Regions from separate parts of the Homo sapiens genome. Here region 2 is linked to region 1. Evidence: promoter capture Hi-C in 16 types of primary human blood cells and fetal thymus (Javierre and others, 2016). All regions are on one chromosome and are shown on one strand. Each heading gives the region's core, a stretch centred on a gene start or on the middle of the fragment in contact. The rest is flanking DNA. Distances are from core to core; before and after follow the strand shown.

Region 1 (4,413 bases), core at 813-3,312:
GGCCCTGGGCCATGGAGATAATTGTGTATCTGCTTCTCTTTTACCTTTTGGGTGGGTAGCCTCTCCTTTTTTAAGGGACACTGACTTCAACCATGTCTACTAATCCCTCAGTATGGCTCCCTGGGCACTCAAGAGCAACAGTTCCAGGCAGGGACCCCCACATCCTACTCTAATTACTACTGCAGACACAGAGGAGACCAATTCCATTCCTTCCCTGGCCTCTTGGATTCTTTGTTTACTCACCTCTTTCCAGTGACCACGTCTCCCACTTCCCCTTCCCCAGCAATACTCCCCTGTCATCCTCACCTCTCCCCTCCCCCCAGCTCATTTCCCAGAACCCACCATCCATTTATCTTCTCTACTTTATACAACACTGCTGGGAGGAAGGGCTCTTCCTCAGTGGAGCCCAGGAACCTCCATGAGGAGCCCATTTCTCCCTTCACAACCAAAAAATTGCTTCCTGTAGAATAACAAGCAGAGGGAAAAGGCTGGAAGGAGATATGTTATCGGGGTGTTCTCCAGGGGGTGGGACTGTAGGTGACTGACATGTTTGTTTTTCATACTTTTCTCTAGGTTTTACGTTTTCTATTATGAGCAGATTACTTTTATAATCAGTAAATATTTAGAGGAGAGGTTAAACCACAGCTCTTCGAAGAAGACAGGGCTATGTTTGAATCCTGCCTCCACAGTTAGGAGTCATGCTTCCTTGGAAAAATCTAACTTTCTAAACCTCAGTTGGCACATCTGTGAAATAATACCTACTTCACAGGGTTGTTGCTATGATTAAATATAAAGTGCTGGCTACAGGGCAGGCATTCACAAACTGGCAACTATTACTTAAACTAATAAGAGTTAAAATCGCAACCACCACCACTTGCCCCTAAGTGTTCTCTGCCTCTTGGTACCCAGACATGGGAAAGTCTCACCTATTATAGAACTGGGCTATCCTTCCCTTCCAAAGCCCACTTTTTTTTTCTTTACTATGCCATAAGGTGGCAAAGTCAGTAACCTCGTGTATCATTAGCTGGTTGACTGAATGACTGAAAATACAAGGACTTTGGAATAGTCTTTCTCCAAGTGCAGAGGCAAAAAATAAATAAGCAAACAAATAAATTTCATATACGTATGATCACTGTACTCTTCCAGTGAGGCAGGAGCCAGGGCCTATGCCAGGCGCTTTCATACCGAGTCACCTTTACAGCAAACCCCTCGGGCGCTGGGCACTTGCAGTACCCAGGTTTCCGCGTGGGCGCTGACAAATTGCAGACACTTCCTTTCCTCGCCAGCAGGGCTCTCTCGCGGTCACTTCACCCAGCCCCTTCCGAGCGAGAAGGCCTTGGGGGCCGGGACAACCCCTCCCCAGAACCACCCTGACTAGGCTCTTTGCAGCCAGCATCACTACCGAGCTAACCAATATGGACCAGCCTGCGCTGCACAGGGCGCTTAGGCGATCGTTGGAGGGTCATGAGGATCAGCCTGTCCGCCCACCGACGGCGGCGCAGTGGGATGGGGAACGGGGTGGGGGCCGAAAGACGGGAGGAAGGAGTCGCTGCAGTGTCTCCAGGCGATGGTTGCCAGCGTCTCACTGGGGAGGAAGTTCCTCCTGTCATCCAACCCGCAGTTCCCCTCTTGCAGAGCCCTGCCGAGCTCCCAGTCCAGCCTAGGCTGTCTAACGGATGGGCGCTCAGACGCCCCCGCGAGTTGAGGAGCATTTTTCCTAGGGCTTCCAAGTCGGGCGGGCGCCTTCCACCATCCACCACCCACGTCTCGGCAAGGACCCCTTTTCTTTCTGCTCCTAGGTCTTCCGCATCCACTTCCATCCCTCTCTCGCCCTCCAGGGCTTTCTCAGGCGCCTCTCGCAGCGGACCCCGCCAAGTGCCCCTCCCCCGGGCCCTCTAACTTACGGTGCAGCAGTCCATGCTGGTGTCGGGGGGTCCTCTGCGGGGACGAAGGCTGGCGCAGGGCGGGGGTGGGGTCTGTGTGGTGCCGGGTGGGGGCTCTGGGGCAGTCGGCCGCCAGCCGACCCGCGCCGAAACAGCAGCTCTGCTCTCGGGTCCGGTCTCCCGCGCTCGGCTCCGCTCGCGAATGTAACCTGAGCCCCGCGGCCGGGAAGCCAATCAGGAGCAGCCTCCGGCAGGGTGGGCGGGGAGAAGTGGAGGGAGGGCCACGCCCTCTCGCGGCTCTCTGCGCCGCGCTCCCGCTCCTGCCCCAGCCCCTCCGCCTACACGCTTGTATCCAAGCCTCCTACACACTCCATCCTCCCGGGCGCAATCCCCTGGCTTGCTAGGCGGCAGACTGCCAGGCAGATGTACGCCGGAGTAGGCAGAAGGAGGCCCCCGACACCCCGAGCACAAACACCCACATCTGGGCACAGCACCTACTCCCGCTCAGAGAAAACCACGCACCCCTCACCCATCCCTCCATACTTCCACAACCTAGCAGGAGTCCCAAATATGGCTCCCTTTCACTTCACTCCCCCTCAGTCCGCAAAGAAAGGCTCCCTAACGGGCGGTAAAAAGGTCTCATCATCACTCCTGCTACAGACGGAGAAACCTGTTGGTACAACCTGGCGATGGGCATGCGTCCACACAAAAGCTCACAAGCCCCACATGTCCACATATGATTTTCCCAGGCCTTCTTCCAGCATACAGACACTGCAGATACAACCTGCAAAAATAACTACGCAGCCCTTCAGTTGCAGGTAAATGCGGACACCCTGTTGCGGGCGCCCGCGCGCTCACGCACGCACACGGACAGTCACCCAACTCAAGCTGTCGGCATGACGTATCTATTATCGATCTGTCTACATGAGCTGCAACAAACAACATCATATATGCACAACACCTATTTTGTATGTATTTATATATGGGCACAGACTTGGAAGAAGTATCCTCCTCCCTTTCATACCAGACTCTGCCTAACCTTTTGATCTGCTGCCTCAGAATAAGACAAAAGCTGGCCATCCTCGCCCTTGCTCCTGAGAAGAAGAAAAATACCCTAAACCCAAGTGTAGAGAATTCGAAGTAATTGGCTCTTGGGTCCATGATGAGGCAGGATGTGGGCTTCGTGAGAGGCTGGGAAGGGGAGCTATGGAAAGAGCATCTGGGAGGGACAGACTGCCACTGTTGTGGTCGTCAGCCTCCCCCAACTCGGCAGGGTACAAAAGCTGGCAGTGTGGCTTGTTATGTGGGTAGGGTAGGCCTTCTCTGAGAAAACTAGAAAGTCTTCTCAGCTAAGGTCCCAGAGAAGGGAAGGAGGAAAGGATGGCTCCTGCTGGGAGCAAAGGTGGGAAATGCCCTGTGGCTCTGGTTGGGACAGCAGATCCTGAGACAGCTCTGCTGTGCATCCCCAGTCCCTGGCCATGACCAGGGACCACGTGGCGGTGACATGCTTCCTTTCCACCTAGATGTTTGGGCCCGAGGCTCTGCTTGCCAAAGGAAAAATGAGTGGGAGAGAAATGCCTGAGTCCATTCAGGGTGGGGATAAGGTTAGCCAGCTTGGGGTCCCAGGCTGAGCTGGATGCTGGCCGGGATTCCAGGGCTTGGGGTGTAGGGGTGTCTCTCCCAGCATGTTTGGGACCCACCCACTTTTGTAAAAAAAAATCTGTTCCCCAATCTGTCTCTGGCACATCTTTCATCTCCCCACCTCCTCCAAGTGGCCAGATGTCCTGGGAACTCAGGCCCTTGCCTAAATGACACGCACATCTGTGGCCTTCTGTTGTGCCAATTCCTGCTGGACTTCAACTCCAGAATCCAGAGAGGAGAGGAAAGGGGGAAATTGGGGGACAGAGTGGATACCAGGCCTAGACTCTGTGCTTTTCTCTTCCCAAATTAGAGCTGAGGAATTCGGGATTTGGTGAGTTTGCAGTCAAGTCTCCCAAGTTGCTAGGCAACATCCCTCTGCAGACTGCGCTGCCTCTGGGCCCTTCTTCCTGCTGGTCAGAACTGAAGGGGGGGTATCTTTACAACACCCCCCCCACCAACTCCCACACAGGCAGCACAGCCCTTCCCTCTTCCTGAAGGACACCTTTGTGTGGGGTGAGGGTGTCTCTGAACACTGGAGGGCCCATAGGAGAACAGATACGGCAACTGTCAGTTCCATCCGCAAAGCAACCATTTCAGCAACAGCCCACTCAAGGCGCCTACGCAGAACTGGCCACAGTGCTGGCCCTGGGGGATGGGCAGGCTCTGAGGTGAGGAAAAGACAGAGAGGAAGGCAGAGCCTGAGATGAGAAGACAGACACTCACAAACTCAAATACCAGTGGCAGGAGCAGTAACACATATGGCCTCATAGAAATTACACACACAGACCCAAAGATGCAGACACACACACTGCCCACACACCCAGAGACACACACCCTGCACGGGTTGTCACCCACTGACATCCAAAGACATGCTCAGCGTGGGCCCCTT
Region 2 (4,413 bases), core at 1,278-3,777, 220 kb before region 1:
TTTTGTATTAAACAGATGAAGTAAAATCCTCACTACAGTGGGACTAACAGCTACAAGCACCACGAAAGCAAGGACTGTGTCTGTCTTAAGTCAATGTTCTATTCCTTGTACTTTATGCAGTGCCTGGCTCAATAAATATTTGCTAAACAAATAAAAATGATTATTACAAACTGAACAATGACAAGAAAGAGTCAAATAGTTGTGGACAAAGAAAAAAATTTTAATAGTAGTTCAACATGATAATGTGTGCTTCTAAACTTTTCCTATTTATACTAATAGCACAATTAAATTTTGACCAAGTATGTTAAGCAGTAATACAGCTTTTATTTTCACATACTCATAATTTTCCATATTTTCTCTCTTCCTCTCATTATTTCTAGTAATACATTTTAAATAAGATGAAGAACAATTACTGAAGCAGAGTTGAAGACTGTATCAACTGGACAAAAGCTCAGGTATACTAAGGTGGGGGCTAAATGGACAGAGTCAAGCAATGTGAATGGATGAAATCTACTCACAGTGGTTAATTTTTAAATATTAGGTATATAAAATGAGTCATTAAATAAAAATTACATTTTTCCAAAAACTCTGGATATGTTACGAATTTACTATGTATTATTCTTTAACCTACAACTATAGATTCATTTATTGTGATAATCAGATTAAAAAACAAAAATAAGAAAAATGAGACAAAGATAAATAATAAATGAAATGCCACCTATGTATACTGAACTTCTTTGCAACGAAGGTAAGAATTATTTCTCTCTGTAAATTACAAACTAATAGTAGCTTGCCTAGAATATAATTTCAATATAACTTGGAAAATCCATGTTCTTGACCTAAAGTGCTTTCTAATAGGTTTTGAATTCTAGCACTTTGGCACTTTTCTTTTTTTTTTTTTTTTTTTTTTTTTTTTTTGAGACGGAGTCTCGCTGTCGCCCAGGCTGGAGTGCAGTGGCGCAATCTCGGCTCACTGCAGGCTCCGCGGCACTTTTCTTTAGATAATTTTAGAGTATCTTACCAAACACAAATGAATTTAAATTTAAAATTTTTAAAAAGCATTATCCCACTATTCCCCACTTTACAAAGCTAAAAAAAAAAAAAAAGGGGGATGATTATCAAAAGTGAAGCTGAGTGTGATAACTCTTAATCCCTACCTCATACCCTAGATGTCATATTTATAGTTTAGGGGATAGGGAAAATATCATAGACATAAAATAAAAAGAACAGGTACTTACAGCCTGGGCTTGTTGTTGGAATAATTCGTTCTGATTCTCTTCATCCTCTATTCCATCCCCAGGCATCAGGGAAGGAGGTAACCTAGAACTTCCAATAGCAACATTCAAATTGTTTGGAAAAACACTTGTCCTTTTGGAAGTTAAGTGTGTTGCTGAAGACTGCATGGCTATGGAGCCTTCTTTTTGTGCCTACACGAAAGAAGAAAGGGGGATAGTAACATTCTACCCCAATCCAGAGCAATCAAATAATGCCTCTAAAGCAGTTCAGAAGATTTTAAATTGGGGTGGGGGGCAGGGGAGAGGCTTTAGCTGGCAGAGAAACTAACATTTACCAGGCACCTCCCATGTGCTAATAATTTAGGTTATCTCATCTAACTCTCACACAATCCTATGAGAGAAGTATCATATCCTTATTTTATGGATGAAGAAACTACAATCAGTGAAGTTAAGTAATTAGCCAAAAGTCAATAGCTAGAAGTAGCAAAGCCAAAATTCAAACTCAAGTCTGAACCCAAAATTCTGACATTGCTTTTAACTACTTGGTAAAAGCAAAAAATTGAGTCAGAACACAGGAATAAAACATGGTTTCTCTACAAAAAAAATTTACTGTCTTCACTAGTTAATTAGATTATATTAGGCATGTAATCAAAGGAAAGCAATTCTGTTACTGCCTAATAGCTTATCTCATAACACACATATTTTCCATTCAATCTTTACTCAGGCTCACTTTTGAACTTACTCTTTCATAAGACTTCTGAAGCTGTTGCTTTTTTCTCAACCTAATTTGTTGATTTACTCGGTATTTAACTTGTTTCTGAAAATGTTTCAAAGCTTCTTGTTTTTTTCTTAGCTGTTCCTTTAGTTCTTCTTCAATTAAATATGCTGATGTCTTTAAAGATGAAAGACAGAAAATGAACTTAAATGTTAGCAGTTTTGTCCATTAGGGCTGTTTTAAACACAAAACAGTCAGGATAAGGATACAATCCTGAAAAAAATAATTCCATTCTGTACAAAAAAAAATGGAATGTATGAGTATCAAATCTTAAATTTTTTATTGAATTAGAACTAACGATGTCTTCATTAAATCTTAATGAACCAAATAAAACCTAACACGTTACACATTTTCTAAAATGGAGTAAATAGTCAAGACACACCAGGTTACTTACCACTCACCAAATATGTCCTATTGTTAAAATGTCTTCATATTTGGCATTATGCTCCATTTTTAACCTGGCATGCCCTTCCTTTCATCTCCACCTAGTAAAGGCCTATTCAGTTTTCACAACCATTTAATACCCACTCCCCAGTACCTTCCACAACACTCTCTCTCTAAGCCCTCTTATGCTATAACACCTCTCATTTCACCAATGTTAACTGAGTATAGTACTTCTTGACTCCCCTACTAGATTATGAACTCTTTGAGGACAGGATATGTATTCAATTCTCCTTTATTTCCCCTACGGCATCTAGTACAGAGCCTTCACTATAAGGGTAGTCAATATATATTTATATAATTGCTCAATTCCAAAACATATTCTAAACCAGGGGTGTCCAATATTTTGGCTTCCCTGGGCCATGTTGGAAGAACTGTCACATAAAATACATTAACACTAGTAGCTGATGAGAAAAAAAAAAATCACAAAAAAACTCATAGTGTTAATTAAGAAAATTTATTAATTTACATTGGGTCGCATTCAAAGCCATCCTGGGCCACATGTGGCCCATGGCCGCATGTTGGACAAGCTTGTTCTGAACAATCTGGAACACTTTATCCCATTTGAGTTCTTGATCTGCATTTATCTCCTCTAAGTGCTTTGAATAATAATCATAGTCATCATCATAACAGCACTTATCATTATTATGGATCTATCAGGTGACAAGTATTTTAACTACTTTGTAGCACTCTATCCTCAAAACCACCTTTGGCAGTAGGTATTCTTATCCCTTATGTTACAGATGAGGAAGCTGGAGTTCAGAAAGATTAAGTAATTTTAATATAGCTAACTAGTAGCAGAATTAGAAGTTTCTGACTCCAACAATTATGTTCCTCTCTACACTGCTTTTCTCTTGACTATGTCTCTCTTTCACTAGGAATTTTCAAATTAAATAAAATCATCATCATATCTCGTACCTATTCCTTCTAACTCAGTGATTCCAACTTCTAATTCTGAAGGGTACCTCAGATCATTTTACAGGCTGTCATTAAATTCTCAAAATCAAATGCATTCAAATTTCAATTTAAGTTAAAATTTCCAAGATGTCTATCCCATAAACTACTCTAGTGGAGTGTACAAGTGTCAAAGAACAATTAGGTAAAATAATTCCAACGGAGAGATATATACGTAATGAAGCCTGAACAACTGACCCAGCTTAACTCAAGCCCCAGACAAGTTTAAGCCATTCGGCCTCTTTCTTTTACCTCCATTTTCTCTGCTCCTCTTTTACTCCACAAGATTACAAGCCAGGTCATAAAGAAACTTCCACCTCTGTTCTTAGAGTGCTCATTCTGAAGGAAGTCAGCACCATATAAAAATTCAGACTACCCTGAGATTACCATGCTGTGAGGAAGCCCAAGTTAGTCAAACAGAGAAGCCATGTGAAAAGAGAAACATATCTAACCAGCACCCAGACATTCTAGTCATCCTAGGCCAAGCGTCAGATATGTGAATAAGAAAGCCATCTTGGACATTACAGCCCAGCAGGTGCCACATTACTGGGAGAACTTGACTATTGTCTAGCTCCAGCCAATAGCCGGAAAATAGTCAAGGTGTCTCAGACATGTCCAGTTATTTGAGCCCCAGCTGAGGTCCCAGACACTATGGGGCAGAAACAAGCCATTACCACTGTACCCTGCTCAAATTCCTGTTACATAGTATTATTTGCTTTATACCACTAAGTTCTGGGGTGGTTGGTTACACAGCAAAAGGTAACCAGAACAAATTATAAAATAATGCAATCCCATATATGATGATAGAACAGCAGTGTCTTTTGATGCTAATTTATTAATAATTATTGGGGGGAGGTAGTCTAAAGCTATGACATTTTTAGGAATCCTGATGGCCCCCTGAAATTTTGGGGAGAAAAATGAGTAGAAGTTCCCCTTTAGAACAGACATGATCTAAGGGCCAAGCTTTAGAAGTAACTATTCAGCATTTATTTTGAGCTGACAGAGCTA

What was found. The method cuts DNA at HindIII sites, captures the fragments that hold promoters and counts their contacts. A CHiCAGO score of 5 or more calls a contact.
Region 2: a fragment that was not itself captured here is called in contact with the fragment with the promoter of NRGN in region 1 in 1 of 17 cell types (total CD4 T cells); the score reaches 5.4 in total CD4 T cells.

The regions. Positions count from the first base shown.
Region 1 is chr11:124,737,591-124,742,003 of GRCh38, reverse strand. NRGN (neurogranin) reads right to left here and starts at 2,062. Exons shown (of 4, transcript NM_006176.3): 1 at 1,905-2,062. The coding sequence starts at 1,919. RefSeq lists silencers at 1,924-2,243, 2,304-2,363. The HindIII fragment of the contact is 6,441 bases long and covers 1-4,413 here.
Region 2 is chr11:124,956,829-124,961,241 of GRCh38, reverse strand. It overlaps CCDC15 (coiled-coil domain containing 15), which reads right to left. Exons shown (of 16, transcript NM_025004.3): 3 at 1,978-2,127; 4 at 1,239-1,427. Among named protein-coding and RNA genes, the nearest start is that of CCDC15, 4.8 kb to the right of the region's middle. The HindIII fragment of the contact is 912 bases long and covers 2,072-2,983 here.